Regions from separate parts of the Homo sapiens genome. Here regions 1 and 2 are each linked to region 3. Evidence: promoter capture Hi-C in 16 types of primary human blood cells and fetal thymus (Javierre and others, 2016). All regions are on one chromosome and are shown on one strand. Each heading gives the region's core, a stretch centred on a gene start or on the middle of the fragment in contact. The rest is flanking DNA. Distances are from core to core; before and after follow the strand shown. Region 1 overlaps PCF11 (PCF11 cleavage and polyadenylation factor subunit). Region 2 has its middle 18 kb from the start of PCF11. Region 3 holds the start of ANKRD42 (ankyrin repeat domain 42).

Region 1 (2,740 bases), core at 38-2,537, 33 kb before region 3:
TTAGGTTCCATCCACTCTTTTGGGTAAACCTCTTCACAAGATACACGGTTTCAGGTGGTCCTTTCATAATTTAAAGAGGACGAAAAGGAAGGGTTTTTTTTCTTTTTCCTTTTAAGGACCTCAACAAGTTTATCATGCTCAGTCTGACAGCTAAGATACAAGTTTTCGTTCACTTTTTCCTGTGAAAGTGTATGTAAAACAGCTTTTTTTTTTAAGTGTGAGATTTAAAAAGGAAGCATTCGTCATACTCAACATGCTTTTTATTGATACCACAAACATCTTGGACATGAAAACTTAGTTTTTGCCTTGTTGAAGGCTTAACTTGACATTAAATGCCTTAAAGCACTTGTGTTTTTAAGGCAAAAACATTGATTTTTAAAATCTAATTACCTCGTATCTTGGGATTTAATATTCCACAGCGCCTAATATTTAGCAGCTCAGGTTGTCACTCAAAGAACCTTGCTGGTTTTTAATGGATCCGGAAGACCTTCGAGAACCGAAAACTAAATGCTGAATATAGTGACCACATAAAACTTGTGTTTGTATATCGCTACACAGTGATGAAAATAGATGAGCTCTTTGCTGGTAAAAGACAGCTGAAATTTTGGGGGCACACGTTTCCTGGTTATTTTTGTAAAGCCAGGTTGAGGAAAAGATGTAAAAGTCACTTTGGGGGATCTATCTTAATCTGGGTTGGGATCGAGGGTGAGGGGAGGGATTTCCGTTATTTGGTAGCAAACTGGCCTGGTTTTGTGTTTTGGAGGTGAATGTTTGTGTCCTTATTCTTTAGCTTCTCTGCGTTACTAAACTTAAAGGATTCACACTTAATTTGACTCCTCCCAAGAGAGAGCAGTAGCGAAAAATAATACATAAAAGGACTTCACTTGTACAATAAAAAATTAGCCTACTTAACAGACTTTGGTGTTTAAGAGAGCCTGTTTATCTTCATAAGTACAATAATGACTAAAATGGTGTAAAACATGACATGGTAAGGTAAAGACACAGCAGTAAACCATTTGACATGTTCGTACTTAATATAGTTGACCCACATGCAGTGGGTGAACCCTTTTATTAGACAGTACCTTAAAAGAAATTTTTCATACAAAGTTATTCAAAGCTTCCCTTAGCCAACTTTTGGTTGTAAAGGTGTTATCAGAAGCAAGAGCATTTCCACACACTTGTATGGGCAATTGGTTTTATTATATATGATGGCATTGTGTACTCCAGAACTGTGAGCCTACCCTAGCTTCAGGCAGCTATGGGTAAGTGTTACTTAGGGTTAAGATTCCTATACACGTGGGGTGGGTAAATGGGGATAACCTAAGTTTTTTTTTTTTTTTTTTTTTTGTCTTTTTTTTTTATTTTAAATCATGGGTGCTCCTTTGGAGTCAGAGTTAAAACTATTATGGTGTGTCTTAATGCTCCTCAACAAGTCTGTGAACCTGCTGATGCTTTCTGGAAGCTTGCTGTGCCTTCTAAAAGCCAGTGGTGGGTAGGCATTGCAGTTGAACTGGGGCAACATTTCTTTACTTTGGAAAGGGCCACCTGTATCAGCATCACCACACTGGCTCTGCACAAATTTATAACCCCTGGTTTGTGCATGTCAGAGGAAAATATCTCGGCGGAGAGTCCAGGCTGTGAAGAAAATCTTCAGGACAAATCCTGGTTTCCAGAGTCAAGTTCAACCTGATTTACATGATTCAGCGGCTGCTCCATCCAGTTTTTCTTGTCTGAGTAACAAACTTGCAACTTCCTGCATGTTCGTGTGCAAGTTTCAGTGTTTTGCCATTGACTTCCTAGGTGAAGTGTTTTTAATTTTTGTTCATTTGGATTATAGAGAAGTAATCCTAATGATTTTACAGGTAACAAAAGCTTCATAGACTTGAACATATAAAATATGCCCATGGAAATTAGTTTCTACAAGAGGTCTAAAAACTGCTTTGAGTGTAGGCACACCGTTGTAAGTTAATATGGGTCACAAAACTGACACTTGGATTATATAAAGTAATTTTCCCTCGCCTCCTCCTTATTTTTGTCACTTAAAACACAGGTCTTTTTACCACATGAACTTGAAATTTCATTGAGTGTTAAATGAGTATATTAGGGATTACAGCTGTTGTTCATCCTGGTAATTCTGAGCTTTTTTGTGCTCAACTAAGGATTGTGAGAGTTGAGAGCTTGATTGAACACTTAAGTTTCATAAAGATTACTTCAAAAATATTTAGTATCAACAAAAATAGAGGTCTGTATTGTAGGTTTAAAAACTCATTTTTAAATAATTATTTGGTGGTAATTCATTATACTAAACTTCTCAGTTTCTTTTTATTCAGGCTCCTTCCTCAGAGAAGCTTCCTGTTATGTACCTTATGGATTCTATTGTGAAAAACGTTGGAAGAGAGTATCTCACTGCCTTTACTAAAAATCTAGTTGCAACATTTATTTGTGTGTTTGAAAAGGTACATATGCATTTAGAAACATTTGCGTTTTTTTTTAAAAAATGTGTTCCTGATTAAATAAATATTTGCTTTGTGTTGGGTTTTCTTGGGTGGTGAAATGTTTTATACTTTTGGACATTTATCGTTAGTACCATTTCAAAGAAAGAGGCTGAAGTTAATGTTTTATGTTAGATTTTTAGAACAGATTCTAGGGGTTTACATTATCCATTTAAGAATAGATGGATTTGCTTTTAGAATTGTGCTTTTTAAAAAAATTGAGTGTGTTCATTTGAACATCTGTTTCA
Region 2 (2,700 bases), core at 40-2,539, 55 kb before region 3:
GATAATTAAAGAAGGAATACAGAGGAGGAAGACCTGTGAGACAGAAAGAGGACTAGATGCAAAACATAACCTGTGTAACAGAATGTTCATTTTTAGCTGGGCCCGTTGCTACCCATCTTAAAAAATAATAATAACAAAAAATGATAACAAAGAAAAACCCTATTCTTCAAGTTTCCCTTGTAGCTAGGTAGGGCCACAAGCAATTAGAAATGATATATGATTCTTACATCTCTCTCTTTTTTTTTTTTTCCTGAGACGGAGTATCTCTCTGCACTCAGGCCGGAGTGCAGTGGCGTGGTCTCAGCTCACTGCAACCTCCGCCTCCTGGGTTCAAGCAATTCTCCTGCCTCAGCCTACTGAGTAGCTAGGATTACAGGCGTGCACCACCACGCCCGGCTAATTTTTGTATTCCATGTGGACCAGTCTGGTCTTGAACTCCTGACCTCATGATCTGCCCACCTAAGCCTCCCAAAGTTCTGGGATTACAGGTGTGAGCCACCGCGCCCGGCCGATCCTTACATCTCTTTAAAAGGAAGAAGGCCCACCCTTCTTTATTTCTCCATCCTGCTGTCTAGATGATGATAGGATTCCTGGAGTTCCAGCATCTGTCCTGGAACATAAGGATTAAAGCCACCTGTTAAGGATGTGGACTAGAGAGAAGGGGCTTGGGCCTCTGATAGTCTGATAACTTGCCATAACCATCTATCTCAAGACTTCTTTTACATGAGAAATAAATTCTGCATTGTGTAAGTCTCTCCTGTATTGGATTTTTCTGTTATGTGTAGCCAAACTAATCTTGAATAATGTATTTCCAGAGCTGATCTTCTCTGTGGTGGTGGCAGGTACCTCTTTACAAAACCCTTATCAACCCCTAACGTATTATTTTTTATTTTTTACTGCCTGTTTCTTCCCACTAGACTTTTTAAGGACAGGGACTTTTCTTGGCTTTTTGTATCCCCAGCTCCTTGAACAGTGCTCACCATATAGTAGGGGTTCAGTAAATATTTTCTAAATAAATGAATGGTGCCAGGAACTGCAAACTGCAGTTTGCACTGCAAGGAGTGGGCACTGCTGATTCAAAAGAGTCACATTAGGAAGTATAACTTTTGCACCCATTAGTGTATAATGAAACACTGAATTCATACTGTCTTATACTTCTATGCCTTTGCATGAACTGTTCATATTGCCAAGAATGTCTTTTCCCCCTTGCCCACCAGACACACTACTACTTATTTCTAAAGTTTTCCCTTAATCATCACCTTCTCCAGGAGACTCTACCCCAGTCACCACAAGTAGAGCCGATCTTTCTTTTACTCAACTCTATATCCAATTCTTAATTGAATTATAGCACTTAGCATGCTACATTACAACTAATTGTTTGTATGTCTGCCTCTTAGACTGGATTCTGGGACCTGAAGGGTAAAGTATATGACTTACTTAACTCTGTGTTCTTAGGACCTAGCCTAATGCCTGGCTAATGGTCAGACTCGGTGTATGTTTGCCAAGTTCTTAGTAAGATCACAGATCTGAGGATGTGGTTTGAATCTGCTAGTGGGAAATAAAAACTGTAAAGGCACTTTTGGATTACATGTTTAGTGGGAAATAAAAGCTCAAGCTGCGCTGCACCAAGAGAAGGACAACCTGGATTCTGGTCCCAGTCCTGGAGCTTCCTACCCAGCAACCGTAGCCCCTTTGAACATCTGACGCCTCATCTATAAATTGGGACATAAAGACCTCACAGGGCTGTTGTGAAGCTCAAGTCAACAACTGTGGACAAAAGCTCTTTTTGTAAACTATACTATTAGGCAAGAACAAATTTAAAACTGTCCAAGTGGAGAGTTTGTCCTTTTTAAGACAACAATAATCCCCGTAAAATTCTCCTCCCAGTTCTCGAGGCACGTAGATAAATATGCAGTAGTTTTGGTCTGCTCTCCATTCTTAGATCTTGAAAGAGCCTCTGTGAAGCTGGAGCAGCTTTCAAATTTTGAAGTCAGTCTTCTTGAATCAGTCTTCTTCCCTTTGACATAGCTTGTCATAGGGATTCGTATGTATTTAGTATTAATATTTACAATAAGGCCTTTCCCTCCCCTTTGAAAATTCTACGCCAAACAACAGCCAAAATCTGAGGCCTTTTTGTCCTTGAAACTTGGGCTAAATGGCTCCAGCATGTGGAAGACTCCTCCTCTCAGCCTCTCAAAATTGTGTCTCTTCAGAGTATGATAAGAGACATAGCTGGCCGCAGTGGTTAATGCCTGTAATCCCAGCACTTTGGGAGGCCAAGGCAGGCAGATCACTTGAGGTCAGGAGTTCGAGACCAGCCTGCCCAACATGGCTAAATCCCTTCTCTATTAAAAATATGAAAATTAGCCAGGCATGGTGGCTCACCTGTAACCCCAGCTACTTGGGAGACTGAGGCAGCAGAATCACTTGAACTCGGGAGGCGGAGGTTGCAGTGAGCCAAGATCGAGCCACTGTACTCCAGACCGGGCGACAGAGCAAGACTACATCTCAAAAAAAAAAAAAAAAAAAGGAAAGAAAGAAAACGAAAAAAAAAGAAAGAAACAGCATCACACTCATTTTGTTTTGCTCTGATCTTTTGAGTCTTACTTTGATTTGCTCTAGTAGGCTAAAGAATTTAACAACTCAGCCAATGGATTCTGAGTTCTGAGGGGCAGTCATGATTTAGTGGGAAGGGTGTAT
Region 3 (2,700 bases), core at 16-2,515:
CCTGAATTCTGTTTGGCCTCTCCCGTCTCTATTTGTCCCGCAACACTAGCAGTATATCCTCAGGCAATTAACTTTTTTTTCCCTTGTTTCTCTCTCTGTAAAAAGGAAGAGGAATACTTATTTTGGCAGGTTATAATAAGAATTGAGTCAAACTCATTTATGTTGGCATAAAAAAATGAACAAGAAAATATAAAGCACTTAGTACAATGCCAGGCAGATCATAGGAACTCAGTAGATGGCAATTGTAATATTACAAAAGGTGATGGAAGTCAAAGACAATTTACTGTACCTCAAGAGAGTAGCGGTAGGATCAGAAGAATTTCCCAAATGTGTTCACAGACCAAAACTGGGGGAAAAGCAGGGTAGTTTCCTGGTAAGACGAACAGCACATGACAAGGCAGAGATATTAAAAAGTAAGGTACGCTTCCAGGACGAGTTCATTATTCCTGAAGGGAGAAGGCAATAAGGGTGGAAAAACTGGGCCGAGAGGGGAATCCAGGTTGGTGATGCCCCTGGAGGGCAGGTAATTCTTACTAATTTCTGTATTTTCTGCTGCTGGCACAAAACGTGACCCATACGTTTGCAACAAATGGTGAAATAATTCATTCCTGTTGTTAAGCAATAGGGTTGTAGAAATATTTGAGCAGTAAACATGCTACAGTGAAAGGATTCTCGGATTTGGAGTCAGGAGACCTGAAGCACTCTTTTGACTAATGACCTGTGTTTTTTTACTGGTTTTACAACTTACCTGCTGCCTGGCCTTACCAAAGTACTGATATATTGAGTCTCTTGACCCATAAAACAGGGGTAACAACTAACAAGCGATTATTAAAGAGTTGGCGCTAGTAAAGTACGCAATAAAAACAGCGGCTGCAGCTGCTAAATTCTCCTTTAGGTCTTTTTCCATACTTGCGAAATGACAGGGCAACAAATTTCCTTCCAACCACCACTGAGAAAGTATACCACGTTTGCCCAAGGACAAAAAGGCCCCGCCCGGCCCGCGCCACACAGGTCACCTACGCAGAATGCAGTCCTGGGGGGTTCCACTTGTGTCGCTCAGCGATGGAGGGCGCGATCGATGACAGGCCACTCCAGAGACGGACCTAGATAGGTTCGCATGAGGCCGAGCCGAATTTCACCAAAAACCAGTTTACACCACCTCCCGATTTGTCCACACGAAAAGCCATGGAATAGCTGAGGGAAAGGAAACCGGAAGTAGCGTGGGCCGTGAGGAACGGGAAATGACCTCAGCACGTCGGAAGTGTACTCGTTTCCAAGGCGACGGCCCTGCTGCCTCTCCAGCCAAGTGGCTGGAGTCGGGAGGCTGGAAAGAGACTCCGAGAAAGTACCAGCGGAAGGCGGCCGCCGCTACGGCGATTCGCAGGGAGTAGCAGACGAAGACGGTGGCCGCCGCACTAGCCACCACGTGTGGAGGATAAACGGTCTACACGGCCATTCCGGCGCCGAGTCTAGGGAAAGAGTTAGCGACGACGGGGAAAGAAAATGTGAAGAGAGCGACCGCCGCTCCAGGGTCGCTGCAGGAAGCCTAAGTGCAGACGCCGGCTTCTCCCGCAGTGACTTGAGAAGGGTCAGTGAAAACCTCGGCCACTGCCGCAGCGTCTCTAGGGAGAGAGTTAGGGGAGATAGTGGCCACAGTCACAGCTGCTCTTGGGAGAGAGTTAGGGGAGACAGCACCTTCTGCAGCAGCGACGTGAATTTTAGTGAAGTTGGAGGCCACCAAACTACCGACTCCAGGGGAACAGCCAGAGAAGACCGAGGCCTCCGCCTCAGTGGTCCTTGGGAGGGAGTCAGTGACATTCGGGACCCGCGAACTAGTGACTTCGGGGATAGAGTCAGTGACGATCGCAGTCGCCGCTTCAGTGGCTCCTGGGAGGGAGGGAGTGTCGAAGGCGGCCACAGCGTTGGTAGTTCTTGGGAGGAAGTAAGTGGAGACCGCGGCTACGCAGCCAGCGACTCCTCTGGTGTGAGCGGCAGTGAAGACGCCAGCTACCGCTTCAGTGGCTTTTGGGAGAGAGAAAGTGAAGACGAAGGTTTCCGCTGCAGCTTCTGGGAGAGAGCAAGAGAGGACCTTGGGCCCCGTCCTAGTGACGACGGAGAAGAGGGCCGCTGCCGCTGCAGTGGCTCGTGGGTGAGAGCAAGTGAAGACCGCCGCAGCATCAGGGGCCTGGACTCAACTCCTCCCCAGAGTCGGAGGTGTTGCGCCATGCCCGGGGTGGCCAATTCAGGCCCCTCCACTTCCTCTAGGGAGACTGCAAACCCCTGTGAGTCAGACTGTCATTGGCCTTCATCTCTGTCGTATTCCTTTTCTCACTTAAGCCCGCAACAGCCTTAGCCCTTTCTGGCATTTCCTTTTCTCAGCCGTCACTCCCCCCTTTCCCTTTTTAATTTATTTTCAGGGGATACCAAAGCTGTTCAGCTCTCCCCTGTTCTGTATTATTTCCGCTTTCTTTCCTTTTTTCCATCCACACTATTCCTCCGAGTCTTCTTGCCCAGCTTGACATCAACTCTTGTTCAGTCTTAATGGACGGACCCTTTTAAGTTCTTCCTTGACTTCCCTGCAGCATTTGACCCTGTGGAGGTGACAAATTAGTACTTACTTAGTTTTCTTCTTTCACTCCATTGAGTGACCCTTTCCCTTACCGTTTTCTTTTCTTCTGCCATCTTCTTAAATGCAGCTTT

Evidence for each region. Contacts are between HindIII fragments. The CHiCAGO score rates a contact against its expected background, and 5 or more counts as called.
Region 1: a contact is called between a fragment that was not itself captured here and the fragment with the promoter of ANKRD42 in region 3, in 9 of 17 cell types (monocytes, total CD8 T cells, fetal thymus and 6 more). The highest score is 12.0, in monocytes.
Region 2: a contact is called between a fragment that was not itself captured here and the fragment with the promoter of ANKRD42 in region 3, in 1 of 17 cell types (neutrophils). The highest score is 5.9, in neutrophils.

What each region holds. Positions count from the first base shown.
Region 1 is chr11:83,158,997-83,161,736 of GRCh38, forward strand. PCF11 (PCF11 cleavage and polyadenylation factor subunit) reads left to right here. Exons shown (of 16, transcript NM_001346413.3): 2 at 2,331-2,456. Among named protein-coding and RNA genes, the nearest start is that of PCF11, 3.2 kb to the left of the region's middle. The HindIII fragment of the contact is 345 bases long and covers 1,116-1,460 here.
Region 2 is chr11:83,137,765-83,140,464 of GRCh38, forward strand. No RefSeq gene overlaps it. Among named protein-coding and RNA genes, the nearest start is that of PCF11, 18 kb to the right of the region's middle. The HindIII fragment of the contact is 5,535 bases long and covers 1-2,700 here.
Region 3 is chr11:83,192,447-83,195,146 of GRCh38, forward strand. It overlaps ANKRD42 (ankyrin repeat domain 42), which reads left to right and starts at 1,266. Exons shown (of 11, transcript NM_001300975.2): 1 at 1,266-2,282. The coding sequence starts at 2,225. ANKRD42-DT (ANKRD42 divergent transcript) reads right to left here and starts at 1,223. Exons shown (of 3, transcript NR_149009.1): 1 at 1,021-1,223. RefSeq lists enhancers at 973-1,192, 1,253-1,362, 1,883-2,242 and a silencer at 1,497-1,675. The HindIII fragment of the contact is 14,061 bases long and covers 1-2,700 here.